Linked DNA regions of Homo sapiens: all the other regions are linked to region 4. Evidence: promoter capture Hi-C in 16 types of primary human blood cells and fetal thymus (Javierre and others, 2016). All regions are on one chromosome and are shown on one strand. Each heading gives the region's core, a stretch centred on a gene start or on the middle of the fragment in contact. The rest is flanking DNA. Distances are from core to core; before and after follow the strand shown.

Region 1 (3,160 bases), core at 614-3,113, 3.1 Mb before region 4:
ACTCCATTATGTGGATTAGAGAGTAAGATATTATGGATGATAAAGTACTAAATGAAACATAATATTTATTTATAAAAGTGTGTAGATTGTTAAATCACAAAAAGAGTGCTATGACCATTATGTATGAGGAAACAGGCCTTTGACCTCCTGGAAAGCACTGCTCAAAAGTCATTAGTGCCCATTTTTGAATTCCCCAAACAGAAAGCTTCTTAGAAAACATGCTGAGATTTTATTTACAGGGAATTCTTTGACACATTTCAATTGGTGTGTAGTCAAGTATAGCAAGTACTTAATAATGACTGAATTTCATGTTCCTACAGTCATACATATTCATTAGAAGTTTTATGTTGTTGGTCTGATCTGATTCTTCTTTGTTTGTGGGTGGAACGGCACTGAGAGAAGTATAGTTTTTTAAACTTGAACATGTTCAGTAGTTACATTGCCTTAGAAAACCCAGACACATAGCAGTGGAAATGAAAGAAATGGCATCAGAAGTGACTTAATTTAGCAATTGTGATTCCTCTTGTAAAACAAAACAAAAAAACAATGCCATATTTTTTGGAGAAAAGTTGGCAATATAGGGGTTTCGTTGTCTGTTTCACAAGAAGACTCATTTGTTCTTTTGGGGGAACCAGTGCCTTACAGATTTTGTATATACTGTAATTATTCAGGACTAGGGAACAAACAATTGTATTGTATTTGTTACAGATTGTATATGGCTTTGTTTTAACATTCCCCTAAATAAAATGGCTTCATTCTCCCCTTGGAAAAAAACATGACTGTTATGTTATAGTTGTGCTTATTTATTTATTTATTTATTTATTTATTTATTATCTTTGAAAATATCCCATTGTAGCAGGTGGGAAGGCACCATGAAGGAGGCAGATGCAGGTAAGTTTTTCACATTTCATGGCAGGAGGACAAGAGAAATGGTCTGATGGCTTCTACTTTCTTTGTGAAGGAAACACAGTCATCTACTGAGAGTGAGGGGAAAGGCAGGGAAGTCAGTGGTTTAAGAGAAGTGAAGAAGGTTTAAAATTGCACTGGAAAATTACAGCTTGATGGGGAAAGAGCCAGATGGTTACGGGCAACTCTGAGGGCCAGGTTAGGCTTCCTGAAGCTGACTGTGGCACAGTGGCCAAGCGTAGACTTGGGACTGCCAGGTGGCCTGTTGGTGTGAATCCAGCTTCCCTCACTCCCTCAGTTGTGTGACTGGGCACATTTTGACCTCTTTATCATGCAAATGCAGCAACAGGTCATGGAAAGTAAGAATTATTACTATCAAGGGGCTGATGGGCCAGAGGAGGGAAGGAATTAATTAGAGGAGCTAACAGACCAACAAACAAACAAACAAACGAACAAAAAACCCAGGTCCCAGGACAGGGAATCCTGATGGGGCGGAGGTGGTATCTCCGCAGTTACTGAGAGAGGGGCTGTGGTCAGTTTCTTCCCCTTGAAGATGTTTCTTCCCCTTGAAGATGAGAATGATGTTAATATCCACTATCTGGAGTTGTTCTGAAGATGAAATGACATAATCCATGCACCAAGCATGTGGTAAGTGCTCAACTATAGTATTAACAGAAATTCATAGTGCCACTTTTCTTGTGGTTTATGATTTTTTTTATCTTTTTGTCAGCAACCCAAATACAGGTATAGAGACAACGAAGATAGGATTCATTCAGGGTACTGGTTTATCATGCAAACGCAGCAACAGGTCATGGAAGGTAAGAATTATTACTATCAAGGGGCTGATGGACCAGAGGAGGGAAGGAATTAATTAGAGGAGCTAACAGACCAAAAAAAAAAAAACAAAAAACAAAACAAAACAAAACAAAAACCCAGGTCCCAGGACAGGGAATCCTGATGGGGCGGGGGCGGAGGTGGTATCTCCACAGTTACTGAGAGAGAGGCTGTGGTCAGATTTCAGAGGGGGAGCAGCTGAGAGTGTGATCGCAGGAGGGGGTGAATTTAATTCATAGGCAACATTGTTGGTGATGAAAGAGGAACCCAAATCCTGGCCTTTAGATTTGTTGTCTTCGTGGATTTTGAAGGTGGCAGTCTTGGGAGAGGAAGGTTGTGAGGCAAAATTCTCCAGTGCCACAGGAGAATGGGAAGGGACGCAGGCAGTGAGAGGCAGAGAGAGGGGCTGGCCAGCTGAGCCGGGAGGCCTGACATGCAAAGCATTGAGTTTTTAATGCAATAATCTGGAATCAGCAGTTTTGTATGAGAAAGACCCCACCTGCCTCCCAGCTGTGGAGTATTTGAGATGTGGAAGGAGGAGGCTGTTGCTGCTGCCCCTGAATTGTCACCTCTGCGAAAGGGGAGGGAATGTGTTAGGGCTATTGTTCCAAGCATTGTGGACCCTGGAGGGCAGAATGAGAAGTTTGGTTTGTGAGGGGATCCATTGGAGATTGGATCAGGACCAGGGAAGCCCAAAATTGTCTGGGGAGTGGAGAGTGCAGGAAGGTTTGCGTCTGACGCAGAGAGAATGAAGAGTTTGCGTGAGATTGGTGGTGGTTAGCCAGCTGCACTTGTGTCAAAAGAGTGCATCCTGATGCTGGAATTCAGACTGACCTGCTTAAATTCCACCATTTTCCACTTTTTTCATTCTTTGGAAGTACATAATCTGAGCCCAGTCTTCCCACCTGTAAATTCCCACCTCTTCGCGCTCTTGTGAGGAACCAATAAGATGAGTGTCTGAATTATGTGAGGGCCCATGCCAGGTACATCACAGGTGCTCAGAAATACTGCTCTTTCCCCTTTCTTTCTTTTCTTTCTTTCCTTCCTCTGTTTTCTTTTTTTTCTTTCTTTCTTTTCTTTTCTTTTCTTTCTTTCCCTCCCTCCCTCCCTCCCTCCCTCCCTCCCTTCCTTCCTTCCCTCCCTCCTTCCTTCCTTCCCTCCCTCCCTTCCTCCCTCCTTCCTCCCTCCCTTCCTCCCTCCTTCCCTCCCTCCCTTCCCTTCCCTTCTTTCTTTCTTTCTTCTTTTTCTTTTTTTCTTTCTTTCTTTCTTTTTTTTTTTTGACAAGGTCTCACTCTGTCTTGCCCAGGCTGGAGTGCAGTGGCATGATCATAGCTCACTGCAGCCTCGATCTCCTGGGCTCAAGTGACTCCCATCTCAGCCTCCCAAGTAGCTGGGACTACAAGCATGCACCACCATGGCT
Region 2 (3,210 bases), core at 556-3,055, 4.9 Mb after region 4:
GGAAGCATCCAATTGTGAAAACCTAATGCTAAATGCTCATGTGCTTAAAGAGGTAAAATGTATGTAAAACAAACTAAGAAACCCCTTGGTTCTACTGTTGACAAAATAATGAACACAAAAATATAAAAGCATCGTTACAGAAATAATGAAAAGTGAAGTACCATAAAGCTGGGAGAACACCAACTCTAGGCTCAAACTCTAGGCTCAAAATAAAACCCTCTCAAAAGATGTTCTTATTTTAATAAAAATGCTAATTTGAAACCAACTAACTCGGTTGCCTATTCTGGCTTTCTGCTTCCCTTCTTTTTTTACCTACATCCACTTTCTACTGTTCCTTTATAATCACTGATAGTTAAATGGTTAGGTGGAGCTAACCATTCTGATAACATTTTCTTGTTCCTTAATGCCTACTTTTTGTTGAGAGTATTATTGTTGCAGAATTCAAGAGAAAGAATAAAAGAACTTTAAGCTTTATAAAGTAAGTTGTGGAGATAAAAGTGAATCTATGCTATGCCTTTCTTCTTTCCCCATGGATAATCAAACAATAACTGTAAATCTACTTCCTTTCATCTTTACAAGAGAAATACACTAAGACTGGTACCCAGTTTTTACTAGTTTTACCTGTACGTACTAGAAATCCAGTTAAGTTACTTACCTTCTTAATTTTTTGGAAAATGTCATGAATTGCCCTGGGTATAACTCCCAAATGATCTTCTGAACCCATCATGGTATATGTTTTTCCTGAAGCAGTCTGTCCATAGGCAAATATAGTACCTGCAAAAAACAAAACACACATACGCAAAGATTAAAAACAAACCTATAATGGGTAAAACTATGCATGCTTGTTGCACAGACGCCCAAGACTAAAATGTTTCTGCAGCATTGAGTGAATACAAACCATTGTAGCCTTGTATGGCAGAATCGATGATTGGTGCTGCTATTTCTTCATACACATTTTTGGTAGTTTCATTACCATGAAAGACACGATCTAAACAACAACAACAACAACAACAACACAGAAGTTAAATCAAATGAGTCCACTGTGTTTTCATTCCAAATTAGTAATTATTCCCAAAAGTAAAACTGTCAGAATGTAGGATGATCAACTATTTAAGACACAGTATTTTTTTCAACTTTTTGGTTCTCTGAAAATACCCTTCCCTAAGGTAAAATGAGTTCATTTTCACACACAAAAAATACACTACAAGTCAACTTTTCTATGTTCTTTCAAGAGGCAATAAGGTATAGTGTTTGCACATGGGGGTCTGGAATCTACCTAGATGCAAATTAGATAACTGTGATTATAACTGTTTTAAATGCCAATTGGTTACCTTACTTAAATACATGATGGATAAACAATTTTGTTTCCAGTGAAGCAGTTTATAGAAGGCTTAGTCTAATCTTTAGTGACAAATCTAATATTATTGATAAGCCTTTTGTACTTTTAATAGCAAAAGGATAACAAGGTAACTTTTGATGCTATTATAAGCTTACCAAAATTGAAGGATTTACTTCCATCAACTTGATAAATGACATTATTGTCAGTTTTCCAGTAAACTTGGGCAGTTTCTCCAAGTGATTCTTCTCTAAAAGAATAAAAACACCGCATTTTAACCAGTCATAAAAGTCATGTCATAGGAGGAATAATTGAAAAGATTTCACCTGCTAAAGAATATTTTGAAAGATAGTAACATAAGAGAATGACAGAAAGTCCATCTTTGAGGATTCAACTCTTAAATGGAGCTTCAGTGACCTTCTGCCGCCTCAAAAGTGTTTTCTTGTGAAGGCTTTCATTCTCACCCTCTCCCCCAGTACTGGTAAACAAAGGGATGGATTCAAAATGCAACTCTGATTATGTCTGTCTTGCTTAAAATTCTTAAAACCTTTTGGAAACTTATGAAATCCTCAGCAGGGCACGAGTCCTAGATCATGTCATTTCTCTCTTCCATTTTCCTCTGAATTCCTAGATACATCCTAAGCTCTACCTGAAGGTCTTCCCCAAATGACAGATGTAACCTCTCTGTGCCTGGAATACTCTGACTTCCCTTTCCATTAAGTAACATAGGGATTATTTCACTCATGAAAAGCGTCAAGACTTTTCTGACACCAGTTCACCCCACGGGAAGCTTTCGTCTCTGATGGGCTAATAACTCCTCTAGCAAACATTCTCTACCTGCCCATCATAACACTTGTCAAAAGGTATCCTAATGGTTTCTTTATGTAGCCGTTTAAGGCATTAGATAATGAGCTCCTCAAAAATAGGAAATTCCTGATCTTGGTATTTGCATTTATTAAACCCCGTGTTCAATAAAAATTTCTCACACACACAAAGTGTTAGCATTTCGGGTCGAGGGCCAGAAGCTAGTGAAGCAAACCGATTTCATTTATTCCTCTTCCTGCTTTTTCTCCCTAGCACTTATTACCTACATATCACCACTTAACATCCTACATTTTCAACTTTACTTTCTGTCTCGTCCCATTAGAATGGAAGAGCCACTGGGCAATGACGGGAGTGTCTGTGTTGTACAAAGTCACTAAAAAAAAATTGATAAATATTTGTAGAATGATCTTGAGTGACGATTGAATGTAATGTGACAAGACAGACTAGCCCTTGTCTTCAGAGGGTCTGGAGACAGCAGTTAGGTGTAAAATGACTAACTGTGATGAGGGCCAGGAAGGCACGGTCCCATACGACTTCTCTAGGCGGGGAATGGGGCAGGGAGGAGCAGATGCCGCAAGGCAGAGCAGCACAGAAGGGAAGGTCTGTATGTCAGCGAGACTGAGTTAAATTTAAGTGAATCTCGCAGCTGGAAAGTATCTTCTAGATCTCCGATCCTCCCCTGTCACTTTACAGACCCTGAAACGATGGCCAGCAGCCGAGTCACTAGACAGCAGAGCCGGGAAGCAGCGGCTCCTGGAAACATCGTAGGCCTCGCCCCTCCGGCTCAGGGCGGCGCCGCAGGCCCAGCGGGCACCGGGCCGTGGTGTGGCCCCCCTACCTGCTGTTCAGCGGCCGCACTCGCACGCAGACGGCCACGGCTCCTTCCTCCGCCATCCTATCAGGCTGAACTGGTCCCAGGAAAATGGCCAGGACCCTCCGCGGCCGGCACTTCAGGGCTCACAGGCCGCCCCGCCTTTAAATTTAAAATTTCCCAAACGCCGCATCTGATTGAGCCGTGGCCTCGTGACGTCATGGGCCATTCCACGTGC
Region 3 (3,313 bases), core at 339-2,838, 4.1 Mb before region 4:
TGGTGCATATACACAGTGGAGTATTATTTCGCCATTAAAAAAAATGAGATCCTGTCATTTGCAACATGGATGGAACTGGAGGTCATTATATTAAAGGAAATAAGGCAGGCACAGAAAAAAAACTTGGTATGTTCTCATTTATTATATTTGTGGGAGCTAAAAAATTAAAACAATTGAACGTATGAGAAACGGTAGAACGATGGCTACCAGAGGCTGGGAAGGGTAGTGTGGGGCGGGGGAGGACCCCGGTGGTCGGTGAGCATGGTTAATGGGTACGAAAATACAGTTTGAATGAATAAGATCTAGTATTTGATAGCACAATAGCATGACTACAGTCAACAACAATTTATTGTACTTTTTTTTTTGAGACAAGAGTCTTGCTTTGTTGCCCAGGGTGGAGTGCAGTGGAGTGATCTCGGCTAACTGCAACCTCCGCATCCCAGGTTCAAGCTATTCTCCTGCCTCAGCCTCCCGATTAGCTGAGATTACAGGCGCCCGCCACTACGCCCGGCTAATTTTTTGTATATTTAGCAGAGACGGAGTTTCACCATGTTGGCTAGGCTGGTCTCAAACTCCTGACCTTGTGATTCACCTGCCTCAGCCCCCCAAAGTGCTGGGATTACAGGCGTGAGCCACCACTCCCAGCTTATTGTACATTTTTAAATGACTAAAATAACTGGATTGTTTGAAACACAAAGGATAAATGCTTGTTATGGATACCCCACTTACCCTGATATGATTATTACACATTGCATGCCTGTATCAAAATATCTCATGTACCCTATAAATATGTACACCTACTATGTACCCGCAAACATTAAAAATTAAAATATTTTTAAAAAATTAATTAATTAATCAAATTCCATTCTAAGAACAATCAAGCCGAAAGTGAGGAATTACTTTAAATGCTTTGAAGCTCAGCATCCCGGGGTTCTTATCCGTCACTAATTACCTATACATTTGCAGGTCTCAGTTTCTTTGCTTTGTAAACATAGGCTTCTTGTAAGGATTGGGATTATACACTGAAAAAGCTTAGCACAGTATTATTACTATTATGCTATCTACATTATATTATAGGTGAAACACTACAGATTATAATACATACAATATATACTAATTGTATTATATATTGTTATTTTTTGTCATTATGCTATTTACTATTGTTCTATTTAATAACTCTCTAGATAATTTAACAGGACAAAGGTACAGAACAATCTGGCCCTTACAAGCCGGCGGAGACGGGTACGAATTACCATGACAACAGCGCGCGCCTCGACATTGTCGGCTCGCGCGTTGTTTGGGAAGAAAAAGCCTAGGCTGCGTGTTGCGTCATCATTACGCGCTCTTAAGGTTTCTCCGTGGTGTTTTGGAAGGTCCCGGCACGGCTACCGTCGCCCCACGCTAGGAAATTTTTTTTTTATTTTCAACCTTTGTTACATAGCACTGAGGCTACAAGATCGTAAGTACTGAGGGAAGAAAGAACAAGCGAGCGATTGAACGTTAAAAAGATGCCTTAGCATGCACTCCACCTCTGAACCTTCCTGTGTGTTCTTAATCCTATCAGCTTCCTCTCAGCTGGGATCGCGCCGCGTCAACTTCCGGGCGGATGCCCGCCAGCACGGCCTCCGCCGCTCCCCTTCTTTGGCCCCTTTGTGTCCCCGCAGTGTCGAGGCGCGGGCCCTGGCAGGTCCTTTCTCGAGGCAGGGGGCACGGTAGCACAGGGAGCTTCTCTTTGTGGGCGGGCGCGAGGCCCGCTAGGGGGTTATACTGGGGAACGTGCCTGCGCGTGCTTGGGTAAGAGGAGGTTGCATGAGGGTCAGCTCGTGGTTTCAGTAAGGAGGGGCGGGCGGGGGAGGCGGACGAAGGGGAGTGAAAAGCAATGGAAAATTTTAAAAGATACCCCCGTCCACCTTCTAATTGTTGCGGCCTAACAATGAAGCGCAGCCATAACAGTCCTGAGCCACTGGCATGTTTGCGGGCCCTTTATTGCCTTGGGAATAAACTGCTGTGGCATTGTATCGTATATTGTTTTCATGGCCTTTTTTCCTCTCTTTATTTTTCCCCTGCAGATAGTTCATTTAAAGCCCCCATCCCTGCAAGGTGGTGCTTTCTACCAATATGAATCTTTTCAACCTGGACCGTTTTCGCTTTGAGAAAAGGAATAAGATTGAGGAAGCGCCCGAAGCAACCCCTCAACCTTCCCAGCCTGGCCCTTCTTCACCAATTTCTCTTAGTGCTGAAGAGGAGAATGCTGAAGGGGAAGTTAGCAGGGCAAACACTCCTGATTCAGATATAACTGAAAAAACAGGTGAGTTACAATGTTAAAATTGATGTAACATCAAGGACAGTTTTTAAAAGATGAAAGGCAGAAGGGATTCTCATTTTTATTCTTGATGTCATATATATTGATGCATTGTCCTGCGGTGTGCCCTTTTAAATACAGCTTTGGGACTGCCATAAGCACCATGTACCCTCAACTGAGCATCCATCCATTGTCGCCTCACTTTTATATGAGTTCTTCGAATATGGCCCCATGGTGGAAGTTGAAATTAGAATTTAGGGCATCCATAGGTCAGAACGGTTGCTATTGGAAGAGCGATGTCAGTGATTCAGTCCTATGATAAACTTTGAGGCTATTTGGGCAGACATTTTCATTCATTCCAGTATTCCCTCAAAATATTGATCATCTACTGTGAGCTAGACATTGAGCAAGGTGCCTAAAGACAACCTCTGTACACAAGGGAAGATCAGATCACATCAAGTTCTTGCATCCACCTGACTTCCTGGATGTCCTCAGAATGCAAATGAGTAATTGGTATTCTTCATGGTGAATGAACATTTTTAACCTCATCAGCAGATTGTCAGAGACAAAAGTATTTGAGGATAAGCCAAAAATTAAGATTTCCACTCGAATCTATGTTCATTGAACAGTTAACTATTAGAGGAATATATTTGAGCTCTTGTTGTATTATAGGAATAGTGATAAGTGCTTCACCTTCTGTCATTTAATTTGCACAATAATCCTACAAGGTAGATATTACTGACATAGAGGTTAATGTGAAATGAGATTCAGAGAGGTTATTAGGAACTTGGTAGAGCCTGAACTCAAGTCCTGGCAGTATGATTCCTGAGCATAAACTAATTAGTTAGTTTCTTAGGAAAGGTGAAAGGAATGTTGGAAGTTATATTTTAATATTTATTTCAGTAATATCTTTTTTTATGCAAAACTCTGTTTCGTAAACAGCTTTTAACTTAATGTAGCCTGAAAGATTGGTAACACACATGTTTATCCTTGGTATCTTTTTGTTTGCCA
Region 4 (3,418 bases), core at 83-2,582:
TCGAAATACTAGTCACCAAGCAGAAACTGATGACTGTGAGAATAGGCGACTAATTAACAAACAAACAAAAAAAGCCCTTTCTCAACATTGGATTGACCGAGTGAAAGTTGACAGGGGAAAGACACCTCGATTCAGCCATCTTTCTCCAACAGGTTGTACTGCTGACTGCACAGTGTCCCCTGAAGGACTCCGGTCGCTGTAGCCTTGGAGAGCGACCAGATTCCTCACCCCACTCAGGAGGAGCCAGGGCAAGATTAGGGTGCAGAGAAATCGGTTTCCTCCAGCCTCCTACCCCAGGGAAGAGGACCGAAGCCAGCCCCGGCCTCACGTGCATGCCCAGTCGGGAGGACGCCCTCAGTGGGAGAGCCCTGCTCAGGTTCTCCCCGAGGCCGAGGTGGTGGTGGGAGCGGGCGGTGGCCCCGGGATCAAAGGACCTCCGCCGGGTTAGCTTTGGCAGTGCCGCAGCCAACCCAGCAGGACGCTTATTTTCAAGCCTGGGGAACGTAGTTCCTCCCGCTTTCACAGCAGGATGGAGCCCGACGGCACCCCGGTTAAAGGGCCTTTCCAGAGCCCTCCGGGGAACGGAAGGCCGCGCTCCTCCGGGAGGGAGAACGACACACTCTTCGAGGAAATCCTGGGGCGGGCGCTCTCCTCGCTGCCGGGACCTTTGTTTCTAAGCTGGCCACAGCTAGAGCAGCCTTAAGTGTCCCAATGACACGCCTGCTATCGAGCGCCCTCCCGGCGGCCCCTCCTCAGCCAGCTGCCCAGCGGGCGTCCTCAGGTGTCCCCAAGAGGCGCAGGCCTAGTCGCCTACACGTCCTTTCCAACTTCGTCAGCTCTGGCTTCCCACCACCCCTCCCGGCTCTGCGGCGGCCCAGCCTCTTCTCCGGTTAATTCCGGCCTGTGCGGCCCGGTCGTCCCGTAAAGAAGGCAAGCCCGGGTTCCGGGTGAGGGGTTGGTGGGTCAGGGTGGGAAAGCAAGGCAGCGGTGAGTCCTCTGCTAGCAGATCGGGCTCAATATCCCCATTCCCTGTTTTCTCCGGGCCCGCCCTCCGCCTCTCAGGCGGCCGCCATGAAGATCCTCTGCCGCGGCTGCAGCCGGTCTGCAAACACACGCCCACCCGCACGCTTAGCCTCGCTCGCCACAGAGGGAGGGGTGGAAAAGGCACTGAGCATGCTCGGTGGGGAGGGCGGGGCGCTCGTGGGCTGCGAGTCGGGGCCGGAGCTCTTCAGGCCGGCTCCCGCGCCTCCGCCGCCCGCCCGCTCGGAGCCGCGCCCGCCGCAGGCTGCGCCCGCCAGTCCCGCCCCGCCCCGCCCCGCCCCGCCCCCCGCCGCTCGTCCCCGCCGCGGCCGCGCCGCCTGCAGCAGCACCAGCTGCTCCTCCCCGGCGGCCGCCCCCCGCGGGTCCCTCCCTGGCTGCGGGAGAGACGGAGGTAGAGGGAGGACACAGAGCCGCGCCGCCCGCACCACAGACCTTCGCCTCGCCCCGCCGGTTCCTCACCCTCGGGGAGCAACATGGGTAAGTCATCCTTCCTCCGCCGTCATCGCCTGACATTTTTTTCTTTCTCGGCGTGCTGCAGGGTGGGAAGCATTTCTCGCGCAAAGTTGCCGGATTTCTCCAGTCCCCGGGTGTGAGACGGTGGCTGTTCCTCCGGGGAGAGTCGGCGCACGCGGAACGCACGCCGGGTGCCGGGGCTGGGAGGGTCCCGAGCGCGGGCTGGGGTGGGGTCGGCCGCGGGCCGGACCGCCGCCCGGCTCCCCGGCACCTCGCAGCCTCGCCTCCCCTCCTCCATTCTTCCTGCCGGTGCCCGGGCACCACGGAGCCTGCCTCGCGGGCTCGCATCTGCAGCTCCATCCCCGTTTCTCCAGAGGCCGCCCGCTTCCTTTTCCCCCGCGTGTACTGAGCTCGAGGCTCGGGTCCGACCACTACCACTTCGTGTAACTTCCTTCTCTGTCAGTGCGACCTTTCCCCGTCGTGGAGACTCCTCATCCCGGGCGGGGAAGTGGAAGCAAGTAGTTTGTGAGGGAGATCTTACAACCTGCACGGAAATTATTTTCCAAGGGGGAGAGCGGACAGCCTCATAGGTTGAAAGGATGACTTGTCAGAGGCCACGAGGAACGTGAGGCAGGATAGAGCCGCTAGCTGTTGAATTAGTGCTGGGTGACTACAGTGTGCAATATTCCCGTGCCCAGCCTATTTTCTGGATTCCTTCGTCCGTCTTCTGTAGCAGGAAACTGCGCCCTGTAACGTTGTTACCGAACTTACATGGTAGTTATTCTTTCCCAGCTTCCTCCTGTCTAATCTGCATAATCTGATTTTAGTTCCTTTGTATTTATAGTTAATCTGAAGAGATTGGTTTGGATGAGAGATTTAAGAGCAAATATGTTTTATAAAACGATATATACATTTGACCTAATTTTTTTACATCATCTATTGCTTAACTGTTACATTCAGTAATCACAGAAACGTCTGATGAATGCTGTCATGTAATTAAGAGCTCAAAGTTTCTTTTAATAGTAGCGACTTGTACTAAGTTCCCCAGTTTGCTTCCACTCCTGTCTGTCATAATTTCCTCTTTTTAAAATTTGCTCCCTTGGCATCTGTCAGCTGGGACTTTTCCCACCCCTTCTGTGCGAGTTATTTAAAGCTTGAGATGAATGTGGTCCTTTCATCTGTTAATACAGTGCTCAACACGTTCAGAGTTAGGTGGTGCAACTCAGAATCTTCAAGAAGTATCTAAACCTGGGAATGGTGTCCATAGAGTTTTCTGGAACAGCAAATGCTTCAGGCTTTGATCCCGACCTTTGGCCATATATCTGGAAGAGGCCAGGGTTGACGGAGGAGGTGGTATGAATCAAAAAAGGTCTAGGGCTCTGAATTTTATTTTCAGTTGTTTTTTCTTTTTAACGTGAGTACTCGATATGCTGAACAAATTTCTGTAAAAATTGGGTGGCCCATTTATGCGTGTCTGCCTTTCTCTTAAAGTAGATTTTTAAATAGGTATTATATCAGATTATTGGACAAGCTGTATATTTCCGTCGAACATACACACGTTTATGTGTGTTCCCTTTGAACATACACAGATAAAATACACTTTGAAATAAAATTCCTTTGAACATACATACACAGATAAGTGTGTGTATGTTCAAAGGAAATATACAGTATGTCCAATAACCCTATCTGATATTGGACTGTAAGTTCAAGTTTGGCTTGCAAAATATATTTTCCCATGTTTCCAGGTGAGCCTTAAACAATCCATTTAACATTTTAGCTTACATGTTAAATCCGTACTTTTTCAGTGGAAAAAATCCAATTCCGTTACAACACTGGTGAATAAAAATACCTAAAAGAAATTATCTACTTAAAAATAATCTTCAAAATCTTGAGTGCTATTGCTTGATTTTTAAAAAGGGCCAAA

The links. Contacts are between HindIII fragments. The CHiCAGO score rates a contact against its expected background, and 5 or more counts as called.
Region 1: a fragment that was not itself captured here is called in contact with the fragment with the promoter of RAP1GDS1 in region 4 in 4 of 17 cell types (total CD4 T cells, fetal thymus, naive CD4 T cells and 1 more); the score reaches 11.1 in total CD4 T cells.
Region 2: a fragment that was not itself captured here is called in contact with the fragment with the promoter of RAP1GDS1 in region 4 in 1 of 17 cell types (total B cells); the score reaches 5.6 in total B cells.
Region 3: a contact is called between the fragment with the promoter of SMARCAD1 here and the fragment with the promoter of RAP1GDS1 in region 4, in 9 of 17 cell types (naive CD8 T cells, fetal thymus, non-activated CD4 T cells and 6 more). The highest score is 23.5, in naive CD8 T cells.

What each region holds. Positions count from the first base shown.
Region 1 is chr4:95,157,675-95,160,834 of GRCh38, forward strand. BMPR1B (bone morphogenetic protein receptor type 1B) reads left to right here. Exons shown (of 13, transcript NM_001203.3): 13 at 1-774. Among named protein-coding and RNA genes, the nearest start is that of UNC5C, 390 kb to the right of the region's middle. The HindIII fragment of the contact is 3,321 bases long and covers 204-3,160 here.
Region 2 is chr4:103,195,265-103,198,474 of GRCh38, forward strand. It overlaps CENPE (centromere protein E), which reads right to left and starts at 3,079. Exons shown (of 49, transcript NM_001813.3): 1 at 3,000-3,079; 2 at 1,495-1,586; 3 at 899-988; 4 at 656-774. The coding sequence starts at 3,055. RefSeq lists an enhancer at 2,941-3,210. The HindIII fragment of the contact is 637 bases long and covers 1,488-2,124 here.
Region 3 is chr4:94,206,277-94,209,589 of GRCh38, forward strand. SMARCAD1 (SNF2 related chromatin remodeling ATPase with DExD box 1) reads left to right here and starts at 1,589. Exons shown (of 24, transcript NM_020159.5): 1 at 1,589-1,794; 2 at 2,070-2,308. The coding sequence starts at 2,119. It overlaps SMARCAD1-DT (SMARCAD1 divergent transcript), which reads right to left and starts at 1,280. Exons shown (of 9, transcript NR_125922.1): 1 at 1,254-1,280. RefSeq lists enhancers at 1,208-1,567, 1,666-2,169. The HindIII fragment of the contact is 2,630 bases long and covers 1,030-3,313 here.
Region 4 is chr4:98,260,052-98,263,469 of GRCh38, forward strand. RAP1GDS1 (Rap1 GTPase-GDP dissociation stimulator 1) reads left to right here and starts at 1,333. Exons shown (of 15, transcript NM_001100427.2): 1 at 1,333-1,518. The coding sequence starts at 1,515. RefSeq lists enhancers at 574-873, 625-1,187 and silencers at 1,154-1,453, 1,554-1,623. The HindIII fragment of the contact is 4,992 bases long and covers 1-2,645 here.